Regions from separate parts of the Homo sapiens genome. Here regions 1, 2, 3, 5 and 6 are each linked to region 4. The links are contacts of gene promoters, found by promoter capture Hi-C in blood cells and fetal thymus (Javierre and others, 2016). All regions are on one chromosome and are shown on one strand. Each heading gives the region's core, a stretch centred on a gene start or on the middle of the fragment in contact. The rest is flanking DNA. Distances are from core to core; before and after follow the strand shown. Region 1 has its middle 48 kb from the start of LINC00604. Region 2 has its middle 31 kb from the start of LINC00604. Region 3 has its middle 39 kb from the start of LINC00604. Region 4 holds the start of PTGER4 (prostaglandin E receptor 4). Region 5 overlaps LOC105374736 (a long non-coding RNA gene). Region 6 overlaps LINC00604 (long intergenic non-protein coding RNA 604).

Region 1 (3,604 bases), core at 300-2,799, 490 kb before region 4:
GTGGGTGCCTGTAATCCCAGCTACTCAGGAGGCTGAGGCAGGAGAATCGCTTGAACCTGGGAGGCAGAGGTTGCAGTGAGCCGAGACGGCACCAGTATACTCCAGCCTGGACAATAGACAGTAGATTTCAAAAAAAAACCTTCTATATGATTTTGTTATTGAAATTAGTAGTGCAAGAGTAATATAATAAGGGTAAAGAAGAAAGAGTCTATAGAGAGGTATGCATAGGCTGGGCAGGAGAGAGATAATCAAGGTTATTGATGAAATAACAAGATGTGAGTGATTTTAAGCAGTCTTTACATCATTACAGCTAAGATTATGGAATCATTTCTAATCAGCTGGTCAATTAACTTAATACCCTTGAGACTTGTTCATGATCTGTTTAAAATCTCACTTTGAAAATCACAACATCTTAACTTTATTGGTAAATGCAAAGATAAGTAGGCATTATTTGTTCTTGTTACATACAATTAAGTAAATATAATCAATAAATGAATCAATAGAAAAGAACAAGACTAAAGTTTTACTTTCTTTTCTCTGCCTCTGCTGATTTTCTTTTTTATCTTTAATTTTGCCAATAATTAGGAGACAAGGTAAATTCAGGACAGGAATGATTCTATAAAACCATGCTTCTGGTTTATATTATCTGACATACTTTTTTAATCCATCACAAGATGTGCTTCAAACTGACGCAGACAGCATTACCAAAGAGGACAGCTGAGGTTAGACTACTCACAAACAATTATAAACAAATGAATTGTTTACTTAATTTGTAATGTTCGAGAAGTCAATTATGCTCCAATTTTCAAAGCCCTGCAAGCACCCAACCAGATTCCTTTCCTTACGCAGATCACAGGTTCGTACTGCAACTCACTACTGTCTCAGAACTAAAGCTTTCCTGTTTCTCATTTGTTATGTTCCACCAATGTCAAAGAGAGCACAACAGTCATGAACTTATCAATAAATCACATTAATGTCAGGCTCCAATTGTGTGGTAATGTCCTGGAAAAATGCAGCCAGGGCTAAGTAAATAAGTCTAGCTGTGTTGTTATTTCAGAGGTGGAAGAAGCCATTTTACATAAGCACACTAAATGGATAAGAACTAGATTGTCCCCACTTCCAGAATGTACTTCCTGGTATACGAAGAGAAGCATTACTCTTAACAGGTTATTTAATGTCACTTAAGTGCTCTCTTGACCTGAAAGAAACACAAGTCCAGCTATTTCTTAAGGATGAGAGTGGGTGAGCTTCCAAGATGGGTTTGGAGATATTACAGGTGCAGTTAATATTAAGGTCTCCTTGCCTCTGACTTCTCATAATCTTACTTCAGATACTACTGCATTCTTTTTACTCTAGATTTTACTATTAATAGAACATATCATTCTTAAAAAATAAATTTGCCAGTTGAAAAATAATTCAAATGTTAAAGTCAAATAAAGGAAATGCTAAGGTTAATAAGGTTCTTCCAAGGTTCCTTTCTGCCACCATCTGCCCCTGCCAAAATCCCAGACCTCAAGGGAAACCATTCAACAGATGGGCGTAAAAAATGCCAAAACTTCTGGGGCATACACAGGCATAGCATATATTTTTAAATATGTCAGTAAAAAACTATACCATCCTGTTAGATTAATTTAAGAAATTTACTTCTCCATATAGCACAAGTGGTACCTATAGAGCCACCTCACATTCTTTAACAGCAATGTAATGTTTTTTGGTGTGGGTATAATGTGATCTATTTAACCAATCCTCCATAAAGTATAAAGTATTTTATATTATTTCTCATTCTTTAATTCTACAAATGTGCTACAATGAATATCTTGGTACACATTAGCTGGCATAGTATTTATTAGAAATCACTTAGTGTTTACTATCCTCCAGGCACGGTTACAAACCCTTTAATCATTCAATTCTCATAAGAAGTGTTTGAATTCAGTAGTTTTATTATCTCCTATTTGGAATTAGGAAAAAAAAAAGGAGACATAGAAAAAGCAATTTTTCCATGTAGCTATTAAGTGACAATGCTGGTTTCAAACTGAGGCTGTCATGCTCCAAGATCAAAACTCTTAACAACTACACTGTACTGCCTAAAGTGCCTTTGCTTTGGATGAAGGTCCAAAATTTAAAAACTCACCTCTGTGTTTTTCTGAATGTGCTTAGATCTTTAATTACCAGCCAGCTTCTGGATTAAATGTTTCACCTTGACACCAAGCTTAAATGGACAAATCATTCTCTTAACTGTATTCCAGTTCTTTGTTCTCAGCCCAGTTGTGGTTCCCTCACTCTAGAATTCTGATGTGCTTCTGTGATTTAAGCCCACTCATAGCTTTGGCTTGAAAATAAAATAACTTGATCACAGCAGTATAAAAATGTTTAAGGAGTCTGTGTCAGTTATGATACTTGGGAAAAACATGAATGTTTAGGACACTGAAGAATACTTTTGCTCAGAATCAATGGCCTGAGATTAATGTGTGGGTTTGTGACCTTGAAATTTAATTTCCTATCCATACGATCCAGAAATTTACCAAAATTATCCCTCAGATATATTTCAACAGTAAAATTTAGCGATAAGTCCCTACGTTTCCTGATTCCTGATTCGGATGTCAGCGATCTAGTTTGTAGGGTTTTCCTGATCCTATGAGTCTGAACTGTCATCATCTCAGCCATTATGAACATCAAAACGAGCAATGTGAACAAACCATCAGTTCTAACTTTTACTGATCTGGCTGAACCAGTGTAAATGGATCAGCAGTTTTTTCTTCCTCGACTTAATGTTCTTGAGGATGTTACTCAAAAACATTCGCATAAAATGGAGCCATAAGAAAAAAATAATTCCTGGCATGGCATTTTAGGATTTTTTTGTTATAAATTTTTGGGGAAAATGTGTTTGACGTATAAGATGAAAGTTTCTCCTGCATTTGTGCAGGAGAGCTTAGGCTCTTGGGCCAGAGACCAGACATTGAGGGTGGGAATCAACCAGGTTTTCAGACTATGAAGTATGAAAGGTAGGAAGCTGTGAAAAGCATTGAAGAGGAACTAAAAAAGAGTTCACATGAAATGGCATACCAAAAGAAACAGACATTTTTAAGGTGAATTTTGCAGCCTTGCCCGAGGGTCAAAATAATGTATTGGTCAATCTAGACAGAAGCTGTTTCTTAAAGTGAAATTTTAAGTATTATATGACAGATGGATTATAGGAAATAAAATTAAGGAAGAAAAAGTTACTGTAATTAAGGAGTCATTTTTTAAATTCAAATCCCAACTCATATTAGTTGTGTAAGCACAGAAAAATCGCTTAACATCTATGAGCCTCCATCTCAAACTTACAAAAGGGAGCTATTTGTTTCTACCTTGTAGATCTTTTGTGAGTATAAGCTGATTTAACATACTTGTAAAAGATTTATAAACTGTGAGTATCAAGTAAATATATAGATAGTTCTTGTTATCATGATTATATCACAATTTCTCAAAGTAGGACTCCATCTGAATGAATATTGGTGACTAGGATACTTTCCTACTGTCCTTGGCCTTTTACCTTTGTCCACTCCAAATAAGTGACATGCTACAGCTGGCACGTAAGTGGTTACTGAAGGGAAAATGTAATTAA
Region 2 (3,275 bases), core at 657-3,156, 470 kb before region 4:
ATGAATACTTGTATACCCAGCACCTAGATTCAATTGTTAACATGAAAACTTTTTTAATAAGGGAAATTACCTCTTTTAATTCAAAAGCATCTTATAAAATAGTAGTAATACCAATACATTGTTATTTGCTGTTGGATAGTCTTATCAAAATATTGTTTTCATATTTTCCCACATTATTTAGTCAAAACATTAAAATATGTGATTGCTGGTAGCTCGCTGTTTTACTAACTCTGTATATTTTCACATTAAAACATTACATTCTAGTTAATAGCAGTACATCAACATAGAAAGTGACTAAAGTAAGCAACAGGGCATGTCTACAAGAAGAGTGATTGTTAAGAATGCTTTTCAAAATCTCATTATGTAAGGTTCAATACATGTTTAATATAATTGTAATTCTTGATGCAGATATGATTTGATCTACAGACACATGCTTTCTCTCTATCTTGCTAACATTTACTTTGCAATATTGGATAGATAAGTATTCACTTCCTACATTATTAAGCACATGTAAATGCTATTCACAGCTGTGCCCAGTAGTACATAGTGATTACCTCTTTTTTCCTGCATATTTGCTTTTTCTCTAGTGATTACAGTTGTCGTAATTTTTTACTTACTGAAATTTCTTTGTACATTTTTTAACAATTCAGACCCAAGTTTTCTCCAAAGTTTGTAAATACCTCATCAATACATTTCAGCACATTAATTATTTTATCAATGTGATTATTTTGAAACAATCTCTCCTGAACCCCCTGACTTTGCATATCTTGGCTGATTGGCCTTTTTTGTGTGTGACTAAATGATCCTCTAGGGCAAGGATTGTATTTTTATGTCTTTAAAGTTCTCACTGCCAGCATAGTGACTTGCATATTGTCAGCTTTCAGTAAACTACTCAACAAATGATGCCACTACTGCAAGAGGAAAGCAAATGGAGAAGCTATGGGACTGAACCACTTACTCCAGAACATTCTAGTCAACTGACTACAGAAAGCTTTTATTACCTCTGGCCTGTAGTAATAGGACAGCCTAGATCTGTGATTTTTGCCTCTTGAATCTGTGCAAACAACTGGCAGTTCCACTCATTTAATTGACCTGTTACTTGGGTATAACATAGCTACTGTGCACTACATACTTGTTTGAATTGGCAACTAGAAAATCATTCAATATCCTTCTTAGTCTATGAGTCTTCTATTTTACATAAATAGTTAATGAAAAAAACCACATAAGTACCATTTTATTATCATGACCTGCAGAACACATTTCAATATCTCTGAAAGTAACCAATGCAGGAAGGCTTTGATCTTCCAAAATCAAGGGAGAGAATCTTGTTTCTTTCAACATAATTGGAAACCACACCACAAGTCAAATGTACTAATACCTGAGAAACGCAATTATATGATTATTTTACAAATTTTATGTTTGTTTCTTTCATCCTAACCATGGAAAATGGCATGTTTATAATATAAGTAGTACAATGGAAAAGCAAAGAGCAGATAGAATCTAAAATATGGAGACCCAACCCTAAGACCTAGTTATGAAAGCCTGGCAGACTTCTCAGAGTCTCTATTATTTCATATAAAAAATAACAATAATACTAACTTTAACTTCCAGGATTTCTTTGACCATATGAAAAGACAAAGAGTATTATAAAAATTTGTAAATCTTGGGGCACATTGAAAACAAAATACACTTTCATCAGGTATTTTAGATAGAACCATGGTATAAACATTTACAACGTATATGAGAAAACAATAAAAGATCATAGACAATGAAATACTGTAAAGTGTCAGGGAACAGGCATGGTTTAAAAGCATGAGATCTATAGACAATCTACCTGGGTTCAAATCCCAGCTCTAATATATACTGGCTGAGTGATTATAGATAATTTGCATATCCTTACCTTTATCCATTTTTCTGTAAATTTGAAATATTAATAGTATCCATCCCACAAGGTTGTAAGTCAAATGAGTGTGTAAAGCATGTAGCTTGATGCCTAGTGTATGAATATGATGCCACATCTTTTTAAATTATAATTTCATAAATTAAGCATAACCTTGAAATGGATTACATTTTTAGCTAATCTAGAATGGAAACTATACTACTTGTTATGTTATTTCCTCTTTGTTTGTAATCATACAGTAAAGATTAGACATTTTTAATTATTATTGCTCAACAATAGTATTAGAGTTCAATTTACCTTAATCCTTCTTTATAAATCTAGAATATTCTGTGGCACTATTTTGTAGTTGTAAGGAAATATGCAGTTATTTTATTAAAACCACTGATGTCACATTATAACATCAGAATTTTAAGCCAAAATTAAACTTTAGGGAAGATTTAATCTAAAAACCTCAATTTTCAGATGGAAAACTGAAGCACAGAGAGTCCATTTACTTGATTTACTTGATTAAGACCACTTGTTAGTGGCAGAGTTTACAGTAGAATCCAGGGCCTTTGACACAGATTGCTGCTTTCTGGATACCTTCAGTTATCTCCAAAGGTGTACCAGAAACAAATGATTTTCCAAATTGTTAGAATTACTAGTATACATAGCTGCCTTAGCATGGGCCTTTTGTGTACATTCTTCTCAATGAACTTATTCACTAGAATATAAAAGAATGTTTCAAATAAGTATACATATACATATACATACATGCCTACGCATACACAAAGTTATGTATTATATGTGTGCATACTGGAAGATAGGCACATTTTTCAACAGTTATCTGTAGTCACTTACTGGAAGTAGAGATGCCTTGAGAAATTGAAACAATAACTCATAATGTATTTTCAATTAGCTGATGCAACTTCTTTTCATGTTGAAGCTTGAAATACTAGCTAAATCCACTTACACTTGCTTAAGTTTTGAAGTATGACAATCCCCATCTGAAATGAGGATACAGAATAACTGGCTTTGTATTTACTCTACAATCTATTGTTTCCTTCAAGGAGGTCTTTTTAGCATCACTCCCATAAAAAATAGTAAAATTAAACAGAAAAAAGAGAGGCAATTGAAATACAATAACCTGTAAATAGCTTCAACAGCTTCTCAGAAATGAGTAATTTCTATCTGGGAAAAAGGATCCATAAAAACTCAAAGCAGGGCGGGCACAGTGGCTCCTGCCTGTAATCCCAGCACTTGGGGAGGCCCAGGCAGGCAGATCACTTGAGGTCAGCAGTTCGAGACCAGCCAGGCCAACATGGTGAAACCCTGTCTCTACTAAAAATACAAAAATTAGCCAGGCATGGTGGCGCACGCCTGTAATCTCAGCTAC
Region 3 (3,312 bases), core at 318-2,817, 400 kb before region 4:
GCCACAGCAACTTTGTCTGGAAGTTCCATTTCCTTGCAGCATCACACTACTTTTTGAAAAAACATAAATATAGGTTTGGCCTTGGGGACTTCCATCTCTCAGCCTTCTACTCATTTCTCAACACCCAGCACCTTGAGGCTCAGGTTATTATAGAGAAATCATCCCCTGCCAATGTACTTTATGAGCTCAATTTTTTTCCAAGCTTCACCTACACGTTGCTGCATTCTGTAGCTAGCTTCCTGATAAAAATTATTCCTCTGCTAATACTGCCATAATTTATTGTCCCTCCCCAACATAAGTTTTACAAAATCACCTCTGAATGTGGAATTTTAAATACAGAGGCAAGCTAACAAAACAGAAAATTTTGACAAAATTGTCCTAAAATCATGAAATTTTAGAGCTCAGAACTTTAGAAACCATCCAAGTGAAATTTGCCTAAAATTTTTGAAAATTTAAAATTAAATTAAATTTTAAAAAAAGAACTTTAGAAACCAGCGCTTTTACCTCTCCCTATAGCCTTTGTTTTATGGTTAGGAAATTAAAGCCCACAATGGGAAAATTTATCTGGAACCAGCCAGAATGCAATCTGGGTCTCCTAGTCAATGACTTTCAATGAACAGGTAATCTTGCAAATTCATCCTACATTATGCCAAATCTATAGCTGTTGATTCTCACCTTCAATCTGCCACCTTTGGTAAGTATTCAGGAATATAGATCAAGTCATTTAAATTGGCTTAGCTCAGGCTCTGCTCATGGACCAGGCTCAGCCAGACAGCACATTGTTTTATTTGGTCTGTGTTAATGCCCCACAGCTAGTGAGATGGTTTTCATCTGTCATCTCTCTGTTGACAGACACACTCTCCCCTTGCTGGGCTTCTTGCTACCTGAACCTCAAATGTTCCCCCAAAGTCTTTTACAAGACTTCCCCAGAAAGTGATGAATGCTGCAAAAAGGGAAAACCCAAGTCAGTGAGGAGGGGAAATTGGCAAGAATTTAGAGTTAGAATGAGTGACTGGAAAAGAGAACTCTGGAAGTAAACAGGGGTGAAGCATAGGCAGGTAAAAGAGAAAACCAAAGAGATGGTGCAAACGTACCTAGATTCTGCTATTCCAGTGAGCAATGGAGAGGCCTAATGATGTTAACAGGGAAGGAGCTATGCCTATCCAGGCTGAGGGAGGAAGGAGGCATGCTGGACACCTGCAGCACTGCTGGTTTGGGTTAGAAGAACCTAGCAGAGCACTTTCTCCACAGTTGTTATCCCTGCCTCTCTCTCTTATCCACTTCCCATCCATAATTGACAGTTAAATAAAGAAACGCTCCATTTAGATAACACTTTCTCCCTTTTTACAGGACTCAACAGGGAGCAGTCGGCTATTTAAACATACTTTCCATAGTTGGTCATTTGAACACACTGTGTGGAAAGGAAATGACTGTCATGCCAAGGGAAGGAGAAGGGATCATCACTTTTAATAATTTCCCCGACTTTCTTCCCCTGAGAGTTTGCTCAATTCCTGAACTAATGGACACTCGTAAATTGGGAAAGAAGAAGTTATTAAGAAAACCCGATGAACATCCAACCACACTAAATTCTCCACTCTAGTTGCCTTACACAACCCAACTTTTTCCTCCTTTACATAAGAACAGGAGAGCAAAAGTTGTATTTAATGAAGAAAACTAAATTTGAAAGATGACTTAGGTTAAAAATGTATTCCAATCTCTTTTATATTTCTCACATAATTTATTACCCACATTAATGTAATTATGTACTGTTGAAATCAAGCCAAAAAAAACAAAAGTTAGCATAATATGTCAAAAGGTTACTGCAGGTCCATAAAAGATGCTAGTAGTTTCAATACAAAAATTGGTTAAATAATCTAGTGTTTAATTTGAAGCTGCCTTTAACACAGTTTGAAGAATTTTTGTTTTATGAAAGCTACACAAAGTCCTAACAACCATCTGAAATTTTTTCAATGTCTCCTATTGCAACTAAATTGCTACTTCTGGCAGGGTATAATGGCTCACACCTGTAATCTCAGCATTTTGGGAGGCCAAGGCACTAAAATCACTTGAACCCAGGAGGCAGAGGTTGCAGCGAGCCAAGATGGTGCCACTGTACTCCAGCCTGGGCAACACAGCAAGACTCTGTCTCAAATAAATAAATAAATTGCTACTTTTAATTTTATTTAAATATTCTGTATGTGCTCTGAAGCATTATGAGAAAATGAAATAATTGGCAGGACTCTGCAGTCAGTGTTTCGTTTGGTTAAAAAATAATTTGAAGTATATAGTGGATAATACATATCAGAAGACAAAAAACGAAAAATACATGTCTGCTTTATAAATCTCTATAAAATCTAATTGGAGTCAGTTGTTGTATAAGCAGAGAATGAACAGAAAAGCTAAATATAAAATTGAAAATTTAAAAATACTCTAAAAACTCTTATGAAAAAAATTGGTCAGCCTCTCCTGGAATGACTCAGACAAGCTCTTCTTTTTGGTAATGGGCCTGGAATCATATCAAAAAATATAAGTTAAGAAAACACTATCTTTTTTATATTATGAAACTAAAATTCATCAAAAGATAATTTGGAGATCTATGGGAACTATTTTAAAATAACAAATGCCAAAAAAATTATAGTCCTTAATTTGTTATGTTAATGATTTGAAACATATGTGGTAATATCAAAATATTTAACTCAAATGTGGCAACTCCACATGTGTTTTACCAAGAATAACTTTGTAAAAACAGACTCTCTACCCCACGCTCCTAGAAAAAGGAGAGAAACAGGTACAAAATTTTCTGCTTAAGTCAAATCTATGTGGGTATCAAAAATTAACAACCCTTACTATTGTGGTAGTCTCTGAACCCCTTTAAGAATCAGAATCTTCTTCTAGAGAAAAAAAAATAGACCTACACATGCACAGAATTCTGGAAGCTTAAGAACTTGTGAAGCCAATTTATAAAATCCATGCTAAGAACCCTGGATCCTAAGGTAAACTCCTGAGAGAAAGAGAAACAAACGTCAAACAAGCCTTTAGATAATATTCTGTATCAGTCGTGGCAAAGAGTGATCTCCATCCACCCAGAACCACTCACGTGATTTATGACTGTTTTTCAGTGTTGGGAGCCTGAGAGCTGTAGGACATGATTTAGTGGCTCCTACGACACTGGGACTGTGGCCTGGGTTGCTGGTGTCAAAGAAATGGGACTTTTTTCAGGTTCCCAGCTAACTTGGTGACTTGAAGGTTGTAGGCTGGTACTGAAAATTGCTCACTAAGCAGTGATCACCCACCCTCCACCCACCACTCCGT
Region 4 (3,341 bases), core at 158-2,657:
CCTGTAATTACTTGAAATCGGAAAGCCCTTTTAGTTTCTCTTATTACCCATGTGTTGCTGAGACTAACTGAAGAACCAGTTAGGAGGTTTGTTCGTTCACGAAATAACATTTAAGAAATGGGTACCTGCTTATCACATAAAAGAATCCAGTTATTTACTTACCCTGTGAGGAGACATAATATGTTAGAATGCTTGTACACTGCAGATGGGAAGAGGTTTTTCCAGGAATTTAAATTGTGCAATAAGGCCACACAATCTTACTTAAAAAAAATGGTGAAGGGGTTTTAATTACACCATGAAGTTTTACAATTTTTTAGGTTTTTAGTTCTGGTTTTAGAAAACAGAGTAGAAGGATTACAGAGAAAAACTTCACCATTAGACAAGAAGTCAAAATGATTCTAAGGGCCGCGCAAACAGGCTTTTCCAAGAATTAATCATGAGGTGGTGCTTGGAGAATTCCTTTACTCCAGTGACTTTGAAACCCCCTTCTCACTCTCCACTAGTCTTTCAAAGGATTCATGGTGAATTGGGTCTAACGAGTATAACACGGCCGGCCGAAGGCATGAAGCTCACGCTACCCTTTCAGGGCGGAGAAGTTCCCAGGAGGAAGAATGGAGAAAAAGATCGCAGTTAGGCAGTCCTCCCAACCTCACCAAGGCTCCACCTCTCTCCAAAGCCGCAAGGCTCTGCCACCTGCGCCGGGAGAGGCTGCAATCACTGTCTCCTCCTCTTTCTTTCTCTTTTTTTTTTTTCTTTTTTGCCTGGGGTGCCCGACCAAGCGCAGCCCGCAGTCTGGGCACTGCCAACTGACTCCAACTCCTTTTATGGTGAGAGGATGGATTCTTCGTTATTTCCCCGCCCAATCTGGTACCCACCCACCCACCCACCTACCACGTCCGCTGGGCGCACCCAAGTCTAACCCCGGGGCGCACGCGCTAGCGCAGACACCGTATTTCTTCTCCTTTCTCGGCCAACCCTAGGTAGAATCCTAAAACAACTGCCCTCTCTTCCACGATCTAGATGTTGCGGCCCGCGGACAGGAGGTTCAAGAAATAGTACACTCCGAGCGGCAGGCAGCGAGGCGGAAACGGTCGCCGGTTTCAGTGGTGGCCCCACTGGAAGCCGAGTTCAGGAGCGGCTAAGCGGTCGCCGGGGAAAGCACCGGGGCTTCCCAGGGTCCCCTCCGAGTTCCCACTCCGCACCTCCGAGGGCGTGAAAACCACGGGAGCCGCCCCACCCCGCGCGCCCAGCCCCGCCCCAGCCCAGACACCGCCCCCCGCCAGTCTTCCCTGCGGCGCCCAGGGAGGACGCGCTCCGCCCCCTTCCAATCCGGCCAATGGGCGCCCGGGCAGCGCGCGGTTTGCCTCCGCCTCCGCCAGGGAAACTTGGAGGAGGAGAAAAGTTTGTACAGAGGGTGGAAAGGCGAGAGCGGAGCTCCAAGCCCGGCAGCCCGAGAGGAAGATGAACAGCCCCAGGCCAGAGCCTCTGGCAGAGTGGACCCCGAGCCGCCCCCAGGTAGCCAGGAGCGGCCTCAGCGGCAGCCGCAAACTCCAGTAGCCGCCCGTGCTGCCCGTGGCTGGGGCGGAGGGCAGCCAGAGCTGGGGACCAAGGCTCCGCGCCACCTGCGCGCACAGCCTCACACCTGAACGCTGTCCTCCCGCAGACGAGACCGGCGGGCACTGCAAAGCTGGGACTCGTCTTTGAAGGAAAAAAAATAGCGAGTAAGAAATCCAGCACCATTCTTCACTGACCCATCCCGCTGCACCTCTTGTTTCCCAAGTTTTTGAAAGCTGGCAACTCTGACCTCGGTGTCCAAAAATCGACAGCCACTGAGACCGGCTTTGAGAAGCCGAAGATTTGGCAGTTTCCAGACTGAGCAGGACAAGGTGAAAGCAGGTTGGAGGCGGGTCCAGGACATCTGAGGGCTGACCCTGGGGGCTCGTGAGGCTGCCACCGCTGCTGCCGCTACAGGTGAGATGGCGTTGGGCTGACGTTGGGGTCAACGGGTAGAGAACGCAGGGATGCGGCCCTCGCCGAAGAGAGCCAAGAAGGGAAGAGCGCGCTCTCCAAATTGCTTTTGTAACTTGTTTTCAGTGAGCATTTTATTGATTCAGAATCTATCGAGAATAGCACTAGCGAGCTACTTTTCCCTTGAGATGGGTCTTATTCATCTTGGCAATGGAGTGAGTTGGATTGTGGGGAGGAAGAGGAATGGGAAAATCAGTTTATAAATATTAATGTCAGCAAGAGTGTGCTGTTGGCAGGACGTATCGCGAGCCTGGAGATTTTGGTGGCCGCAGTTGGTAAGTGGCTACAATCCAGAAAGTAGGATCGAGTTGCTCCCCTTGTCTTATCAGTGTATCGTTTCTCGGGCGCGGGTCTAACACCTTACAAGTGGTAATTTCCGCTCACGGCAGCTTTGTCTCTCTTCTACCATCCCCAGACCCAGCCTTGCACTCCAAGGCTGCGCACCGCCAGCCACTATCATGTCCACTCCCGGGGTCAATTCGTCCGCCTCCTTGAGCCCCGACCGGCTGAACAGCCCAGTGACCATCCCGGCGGTGATGTTCATCTTCGGGGTGGTGGGCAACCTGGTGGCCATCGTGGTGCTGTGCAAGTCGCGCAAGGAGCAGAAGGAGACGACCTTCTACACGCTGGTATGTGGGCTGGCTGTCACCGACCTGTTGGGCACTTTGTTGGTGAGCCCGGTGACCATCGCCACGTACATGAAGGGCCAATGGCCCGGGGGCCAGCCGCTGTGCGAGTACAGCACCTTCATTCTGCTCTTCTTCAGCCTGTCCGGCCTCAGCATCATCTGCGCCATGAGTGTCGAGCGCTACCTGGCCATCAACCATGCCTATTTCTACAGCCACTACGTGGACAAGCGATTGGCGGGCCTCACGCTCTTTGCAGTCTATGCGTCCAACGTGCTCTTTTGCGCGCTGCCCAACATGGGTCTCGGTAGCTCGCGGCTGCAGTACCCAGACACCTGGTGCTTCATCGACTGGACCACCAACGTGACGGCGCACGCCGCCTACTCCTACATGTACGCGGGCTTCAGCTCCTTCCTCATTCTCGCCACCGTCCTCTGCAACGTGCTTGTGTGCGGCGCGCTGCTCCGCATGCACCGCCAGTTCATGCGCCGCACCTCGCTGGGCACCGAGCAGCACCACGCGGCCGCGGCCGCCTCGGTTGCCTCCCGGGGCCACCCCGCTGCCTCCCCAGCCTTGCCGCGCCTCAGCGACTTTCGGCGCCGCCGGAGCTTCCGCCGCATCGCGGGCGCCGAGATCCAGATGGTCATCTTACTCATTGCCACCTCCCTGGTGGTGCTCATCTGCTCC
Region 5 (3,612 bases), core at 112-2,611, 360 kb before region 4:
TTGCAGTGAGCCGAGATGACACCACGGCACACCAGCCTGGGCAATAGAGCCAGACCTTGTCTCAATAATAAAAACAGCAACAAACATAATAATAATCACAGACACTACACATTGAGAAAGTCAATTACCTTCTAACAGCTATCTCCAGTGCTATGCCTCATGTTCCCAGCTCTAAGAGCATAAGTTTCAGATATCAATTGGCTAAAGAGAATCTTATTTCCTTTCAAATTACATTACATTGTCCTCCTCCATGAATTTAACCTTAAGTGTGTTTTTCTCAGCTCATGGATATCTCCTGCTTCCATCCCATGAGTTGAACATACAAGAAATAAGAAAGTCTCATTCAATAAAAAGATATTTATCAAAAACACTAATAGCGATATTTAACAGTGTGATTTAGTTTTTATGGGTTTCATTTATTTTTTTAGACCTAACAACGTTTCCATAAGATTTTTACAATATAATAAGAAATACTATTTTTTTAAGTGGGGGGTAACTGGCTTCAAAAGACACTCGGAGAAAAAGTAAGGACTTCTACCTAAAGAGGGTAGGCACACATGTATCATTTCCCTCAGGCCTGATCATCTTGGATTTCTAAAAATGACATCAAATTATCTTTTCAAACCATAACTACATTCAAAATCAAGAAAAGGAACCTCCATGGACCAGAAACCATTAGGAATCCCTGGATGAGTGATAAGCAGAAAGAGGTCATCAAATCTAAGGAATAAAATCAGGCTAGTGGGGGAAAAAAATACCATGAGAAAATAGTATTGAAATCAAAATTAAAACATTTCAATAATATGAATAGCAGGGGAAAAAACACAGCTGAAGGTGGATTGGTGAGCTAGGAGTCTGAATTGATGAATTTCCCAGCAAATATTGTAAAGGAATTTTCCAGAATATATCATAAAGAGATAAAGAATTAGAAAGTATGAAAGAAAAGTCAAGAAACATGAAGGATTCAGAACGTCCAGTAGTCACCTCCTCAGAAAATCAAAAAGGAGAAACTAAGATTTTTAGAGAGGAAAATTGACAGAAAAAAAAAGTAATTCTGGTCATTCCTAGACTCCTTTTTAATAATGAAGGAATCATTTTTAGAATTACTTAGTCATACTTCAGTCAACTCATATTTATTCAGATTTAACAATGTGTCAAGCACTGTGCAAGGAGCTGACAATCTAATAAGAGTAAAAAAATCCTCTCCCTGGAAAATGCATACATTCACAGATCACAATTTTCTACATTATTTTAGGGGTTAAGAGTTCATGGATTCATAATCTTTTATATTTTTATTTGGAACAGTTCACCTGTTTTGACTTGGCAAAAACAAGACTATTTTTTCCCTATTGAATTACTGGATTGTTTGACAAAGGGTATCTTAGCAACTGATTGTTTGAAGACATGAAATCATACAGAGACTCAGTTTAGAATAAAACTGGAATTGGTAAACTCACACTCTCAGTGCTATCCTACAATAGTTATAGAATGGTCATACTCACATTCTGAGTGTTATCCCACAGGGGTTATGGAATGGTCATCTTTCATCAATTGAAGTAAATTGAAGTCTCTGAACAATTGTTAATTACATTAGTAACAAAAATCACTAGTTTTCTACTAATGGTTAGTAGACATCTCACAGAGAATCTCAGCTGCAAAGAAAGTCAGCAACCTGAAAAGAAGACAATCAATCTACAGGATTTTGAGTGAGGAAAAATTTTGTTGGCACCACCTAGGGAGACTAGGGGGGAAAAGCACTTGTCTGAGATAATATCTGTAAATAAAGAGTTAACTATTGAATTAACTTCCAGAAAATTAAGTGTATTTAAGAATATCACCAATTTATATTGGAACATTCATTGAGTTTTAGATCAGATACTTATTGGCACAGAGAAAAGCTAGAGAAAATTAGGAAAGAATCATTTAAAAACAGCATCAAATAGAAAAGACTGATTTGATAAGAACTAAAGATGGAAGAATGGCTTTATAGATAGGCAGACAACCAACTTAAAAAAGACAAAAAGACAGGTTGGTCAAAATACTGGATTTACTAATAATGTAAGGAAATAACATTACACAATGGAACATAAATTACATAATCTAAAACAGAATAAAAACTGACTCCACTTGTGCAAGATGTGAATATATAAGAGAAGAACTACAGTAGTCTTTCAAGGGACCAATACAATATCTATCTACATGCCTATGCCCTGGCTTCTATACCCCAGTGGTCATAAACATAATATTTTAAGATCTGTATTTTTACAGAGCTTTCTGATTATGACATACTGAGTGAAAGGTATGGCATTTTATTATCAGCTTCAGAGTACACCCTGGAGGCAACAATTATAATCTGTTAAATAATTGTGGGGTTTTTTTGAACAGAATCTCACTCTATTGCCCAGGCTGGAGTACAGTGGTATGGCCATAGTTCACTGCAGCCTCAAACTCCTGAGCTCAAGTGATCCTCCTGCCTTAGCCTCCCAAATAGTTGGGACCACTGAGGTGCCCCACCACACCTGGCTAACTTTCTTTATTTTTTGTGGAGATGAGGTCTTACTGTGTTGCCCAATTCAATTTCAAGCTCCTGACCTCCAGGCACCCTCCTACCTTGCCTTCAAATGCACTGGGATTACACGCATAAGTTAAATAATTTTAGATATCAGCCTGGCTTCTCTGAAGTTATATGAAGACAGTGAAGTTGTCAAAATAATACTATCTGATCTATATTTGTTGTTATTAATTTATACCTCTGTGCACTCTAGGAATTACTTTTACTTATTGTTTAGTTTTCTTCTTTCTCAGAGTTCTTAAACTTTTGTGGTTCTTTCTGGGCTCCTAACAAATTATTAAAACTTGTTACATATTGTATTAGTCCATTTTCACACTGCTATAAAGAAATACCCAAGACTGGGTAATTTACAAAGAAAAGAAGTTTAATTGACTCACAGTTCTGCATGGCCAGGGAGGCCTCAGGAGACTTACAATCATGGCTGAAGGAGAAGGGGAAGCAAGGCAAGTCTTACTTACATGGCAGCAGGAGAAAGAGAGCAAAGGGGGAAGTGCAACACTTTTAAACCTTCAGATCTTCTAAGAACTCACTATCATGAGAACAATATGGGGGAAATCCACCCCTGTGATCCAATCACCTCCCACCAAGTTCCTCCCCTGACGCATGGGAATTACAGTTCGACATGAGATTTGGGTGGGACACAGAGCCAAACCATACCTTATATGGTCTGACAAAGACATTGTTAAGAAGATACTAAATTACATTAAATCTGTAGTGGAAAGAGGTAACTCACAAAGCTGGCCATCAAAGGTCAGGGTCCTTTAAGTAAGTACTCGAGACATGCTGAGGTCTTCAGAGTCAAATGCCTGTAGTAATTGCAACTGGGTTTTTTTTTTTTTTGCAACCACTGACCAATCACACTTTTCTGCCCATTCTTTGCCTGACTTCTTTGTTTTATGCAACATTTAATAACCATTTATCTTCTTTCGCATTGCCACCAAAGTATTTAGCCAAAATAAGCAGTTGGGTGATTTTAATAAAACTCAAGAAACATATCAACTATAAGCTGACTGTCTTGTAGAGGTTAAACCAAATTTTGA
Region 6 (3,335 bases), core at 123-2,622, 420 kb before region 4:
GTGCCTGCCTTTAATCCCAGGTACTCCAGTGGCAGAGGCAAAAGAATCGCTTGAACCCCGGAGGCAGATGTTGCAGTGAGCCAAGATGGTGCCACTGCACTCCAGCCTGGGCAACAGAGCGAGATTCTTCTCAAAAAACAAACAAACAAAAGATGAGATTTTCTAATATAAAAGTAAAGAGTATGAAAAGAAAAAAGATCTACAAATGAAATTCAAATAATTCCAGTAATTAATGGCCAATATGAAGAGAATGTGCCCCCAGTGAAGACAAGAGACTAAATGCCAAAGAGGTAGGAAAGGAAACCAGAAAGATATATTATTTCAGTAACCAATAAAGAGATCATTTAAATAAATGAGGTGTATTCGATGATGTCATATTGTGCTGAGACACTTATAAATAATTTTAAATCTCCATTGCATTTGGTAGCATGGAGGTGGTTGGTGACTTTAGCCAGTCAGTTTGGAATAGGTTAAGGAGTGAGTGGAGGGTTGAGGAAATAGCAACTGCAAGTAGATACAACTCTCTTGAAAGATATGCTAGGATATGAGAGAAAACTAAGATAACAGAGGGAAGAGGTGGTGGGGTAAAATGTGTTTTTTAAAGAGTTGAATAGATCTGAGGATATTTAATTGCTGCCAGTAAGAATATCATTAAGAAATACAACAGGGTTACTATAACAATGCAGTGCCTATTTCATATAGCTAGAAGAGATTTTGAATATTGTCACAAAAAATAAATAATAAATGTTAAAAGTGATGGATGTGGTAATTACCCCAATTTGGTCATTATACTATGTGTATTTGCATTGAAACATCACATTGTATCCAGTAAATATATATAATTATTATGTGTTAATTAATTATAAATAAAATAAATAAAGTGTTAATTCTCAAAAGCAATATAACCAACAGGGTAAATTCCTTTGAAAGACAGAAGATGAAAAAAGAAAGAAATAGAGAAAGAAAGAAAGAGAGAGAGAGGGAGGGAGGGAAAGAAGAGGAAGGAAGGAAGGAAGGAGGGAAAAGAAAGAAGGAAAGAAAGAAAGAACAAAAGAAAGAACAAAAGAAAAAAGAAGAAAAGAAAGAAAGAAAGTAAAAGAAAGAAAGAAGGAGGGAAGGAAGGAAAGTAGGAAAAGAAAGAAAAGAAAGAAAGAAAGAAAAAAGAAAGAAAAGAAAGAAAAGGAAGAAAGAAAGAAAGAAAGAAAGAAAGAAAGAAAGAAAGAAAGAAAGAAAAGAAAGAAAGAAGGAGGGAAGGAAGGAAGGAAGGTAGGAAAAGAAAGAAAAAGAAAGAAAAGAAAGAAAGAAGGAAGGAAAGAAAGAAAAGAAAGAGAGAGAGAGAAAGAAGGAGGGAAGGAAGGAAGGAGAGAGAAGAAGGGAGGGAGGGAAGAAGGAAGGAAGGAAGGAAGGAAGGAAGGAAGGAAGGAAGGAAGGAAGGGATTTAGATTGGATATGGGAAAGAGGAAAACCTCAAATATAACCAAAGAGAAGAAAAAGAGAATGGGTATGTGTTATGGCTAATTTCATGTGTCAACTTCACTGGATCACAAGATGCCCAGGTATTTGGTTAAATAGTATTTCAGGTGTGTCTGTGAGAGTATTTCTAGAAGAGATTCATGTTTGAATCAGTATGCTGAGTAAAGCAGATATCCCTCTCCAGGTGGATAGGCATCATCCAATCCACTGAGAGCCTGGATAGCACACAAAGGTAGAGGAAGAGAGAATTTTCTTTCTACACCTGACTGCTTGAACTACTACATCAGTCTTCTCCTGCCCTTAGACTGGGACTTACACCATCAGCACAACTAATTGTCAAATGTTCAGACTCATACCAGAGCTACACCATTGGCTTTTCCGTGTGTGTGTGTGTGTGTCTGTAACATATATATATATAGAGAGAGAGAGAGAGACAGAGAGACAGAGAGACAGAGAGAGAGAGAGACAGAGAGAGAGAGAGAGAGAGAGAATGCACCAAAGGGGAAAAATACAAATAAGAATGAATGCTGACTTCATATGAGAAGTAATGCATCCCACAAGACAATGAAACAGTATTTTTAAAGAGCTAAAAAAAAATTTTTTTAGTCACTGCTAACCTAAAAGTCTATATTCAGTAGAATAGCCTTCAAATATGAAGGTGAAGTAAAAACATTTTCAGACTAACAAAGCTGATAGACTTCATTGCCAGCAGATTGGCACTATAAAAATTGGTGAAGAGAGTACTTCAGCTTTAAGTTATGATACCAGATAGAAACACAGGTCTGCAGAAAGAACTGAAGAGCATTAGAAATGGCAAGTATGAAAGACTTTAGTTAATAATTTCTTTAAAAAATAATTACCCACTTAAAGCAAAAATAATAATCCATTATGTAGTTTGTAATATGTGTGGAAGTAAAACATATGAAAAAAGTAGCATAAAAACCAAACATTAAACATATTACAGGTGAGTTATTAACAAATGTATAAACTAAAATTCTAAAGATTTCAGAAGCATATATAGGAGAACATAATTTATGAATTGGAGTAGTAACATATTTTTTGGATGAGAAAAAAGAACAAAACAAAGGAGAATGATTGATAAATTCAAATTTACTGAATCGAGTAGGATAGGGAACTATAAACAAAAATAAAAGACAAATAATAAACCAGGAAAAGATATTTATCCACAAATTGCAAAGAATTAATACTTAGATTACTATATAAAGAATAAGGATCAAATCAATAAGTAATAAAAGAGTGATCTAAAGCAAATAAAATGACCAAAAGGTCAGTATTATTCATGGGGAGGAAACTAAAAGTATTAATAAATATGTTAAACGCAACTCAAACTTAAAGAATTCAGGACAATTACCACTAAAACAATCATATGACACTAGTTGATTTTCATTCAACTGACAAAAAAATTAGAAGTCTGGCAATAAGAGGCTATTTTACTTCTCTTACGCTACTGATTAGCGTGAATTGGTACATGCTCTTTGGTAAACAATTTGGATTTGGCATTAGCTGATAAAGTTGAAAATGCATTTTTCCTATGAACACGTAAGTTTCTTCCTGGAAACTTTAACACACATAGGCGTAAGGGACATGGACAAGAATATTCACGACATCTTTGTTGATAACAGCAAAAACTGGAACAATCAAAATTCTGACTAATCCAAAAAGAAATAAATATATTTTATATATTTTTATAAGGGGATAATTCACAATAATTAAACAACAAACAATAACAGCAATTTAAAATAAGTACAAAAACAAAATTTCAAAATGATAAATTCAGAATACTATTTATATAAGCTTAAAACAAAACAAAACTGCGTTTATGAACCCATACCTATGCATAT

What was found. Contacts are between HindIII fragments. The CHiCAGO score rates a contact against its expected background, and 5 or more counts as called.
Region 1: a contact is called between a fragment that was not itself captured here and the fragment with the promoter of PTGER4 in region 4, in 4 of 17 cell types (endothelial precursors, naive CD8 T cells, total CD4 T cells and 1 more). The highest score is 5.5, in endothelial precursors.
Region 2: a contact is called between a fragment that was not itself captured here and the fragment with the promoter of PTGER4 in region 4, in 2 of 17 cell types (activated CD4 T cells and endothelial precursors). The highest score is 6.6, in activated CD4 T cells.
Region 3: a contact is called between a fragment that was not itself captured here and the fragment with the promoter of PTGER4 in region 4, in 1 of 17 cell types (activated CD4 T cells). The highest score is 18.4, in activated CD4 T cells.
Region 5: a fragment that was not itself captured here is called in contact with the fragment with the promoter of PTGER4 in region 4 in 1 of 17 cell types (total CD8 T cells); the score reaches 5.2 in total CD8 T cells.
Region 6: a fragment that was not itself captured here is called in contact with the fragment with the promoter of PTGER4 in region 4 in 4 of 17 cell types (activated CD4 T cells, monocytes, neutrophils and 1 more); the score reaches 7.0 in activated CD4 T cells.

Annotation. Positions count from the first base shown.
Region 1 is chr5:40,190,373-40,193,976 of GRCh38, forward strand. No RefSeq gene overlaps it. Among named protein-coding and RNA genes, the nearest start is that of LINC00604, 48 kb to the right of the region's middle. The HindIII fragment of the contact is 1,316 bases long and covers 892-2,207 here.
Region 2 is chr5:40,208,136-40,211,410 of GRCh38, forward strand. No RefSeq gene overlaps it. Among named protein-coding and RNA genes, the nearest start is that of LINC00604, 31 kb to the right of the region's middle. The HindIII fragment of the contact is 1,834 bases long and covers 990-2,823 here.
Region 3 is chr5:40,277,657-40,280,968 of GRCh38, forward strand. No RefSeq gene overlaps it. Among named protein-coding and RNA genes, the nearest start is that of LINC00604, 39 kb to the left of the region's middle. The HindIII fragment of the contact is 2,734 bases long and covers 201-2,934 here.
Region 4 is chr5:40,678,508-40,681,848 of GRCh38, forward strand. PTGER4 (prostaglandin E receptor 4) reads left to right here and starts at 1,408. Exons shown (of 3, transcript NM_000958.3): 1 at 1,408-1,971; 2 at 2,444-3,341. The coding sequence starts at 2,487. RefSeq lists a silencer at 1,071-1,290 and an enhancer at 2,426-2,953. The HindIII fragment of the contact is 6,362 bases long and covers 1-3,341 here.
Region 5 is chr5:40,320,353-40,323,964 of GRCh38, forward strand. All of the region lies in intron 1 of LOC105374736 (a long non-coding RNA gene), which reads right to left. Among named protein-coding and RNA genes, the nearest start is that of LINC00604, 82 kb to the left of the region's middle. The HindIII fragment of the contact is 8,266 bases long and covers 1-3,612 here.
Region 6 is chr5:40,261,817-40,265,151 of GRCh38, forward strand. The region is part of intron 2 of LINC00604 (long intergenic non-protein coding RNA 604); the gene reads left to right. Among named protein-coding and RNA genes, the nearest start is that of LINC00604, 23 kb to the left of the region's middle. The HindIII fragment of the contact is 3,828 bases long and covers 1-3,286 here.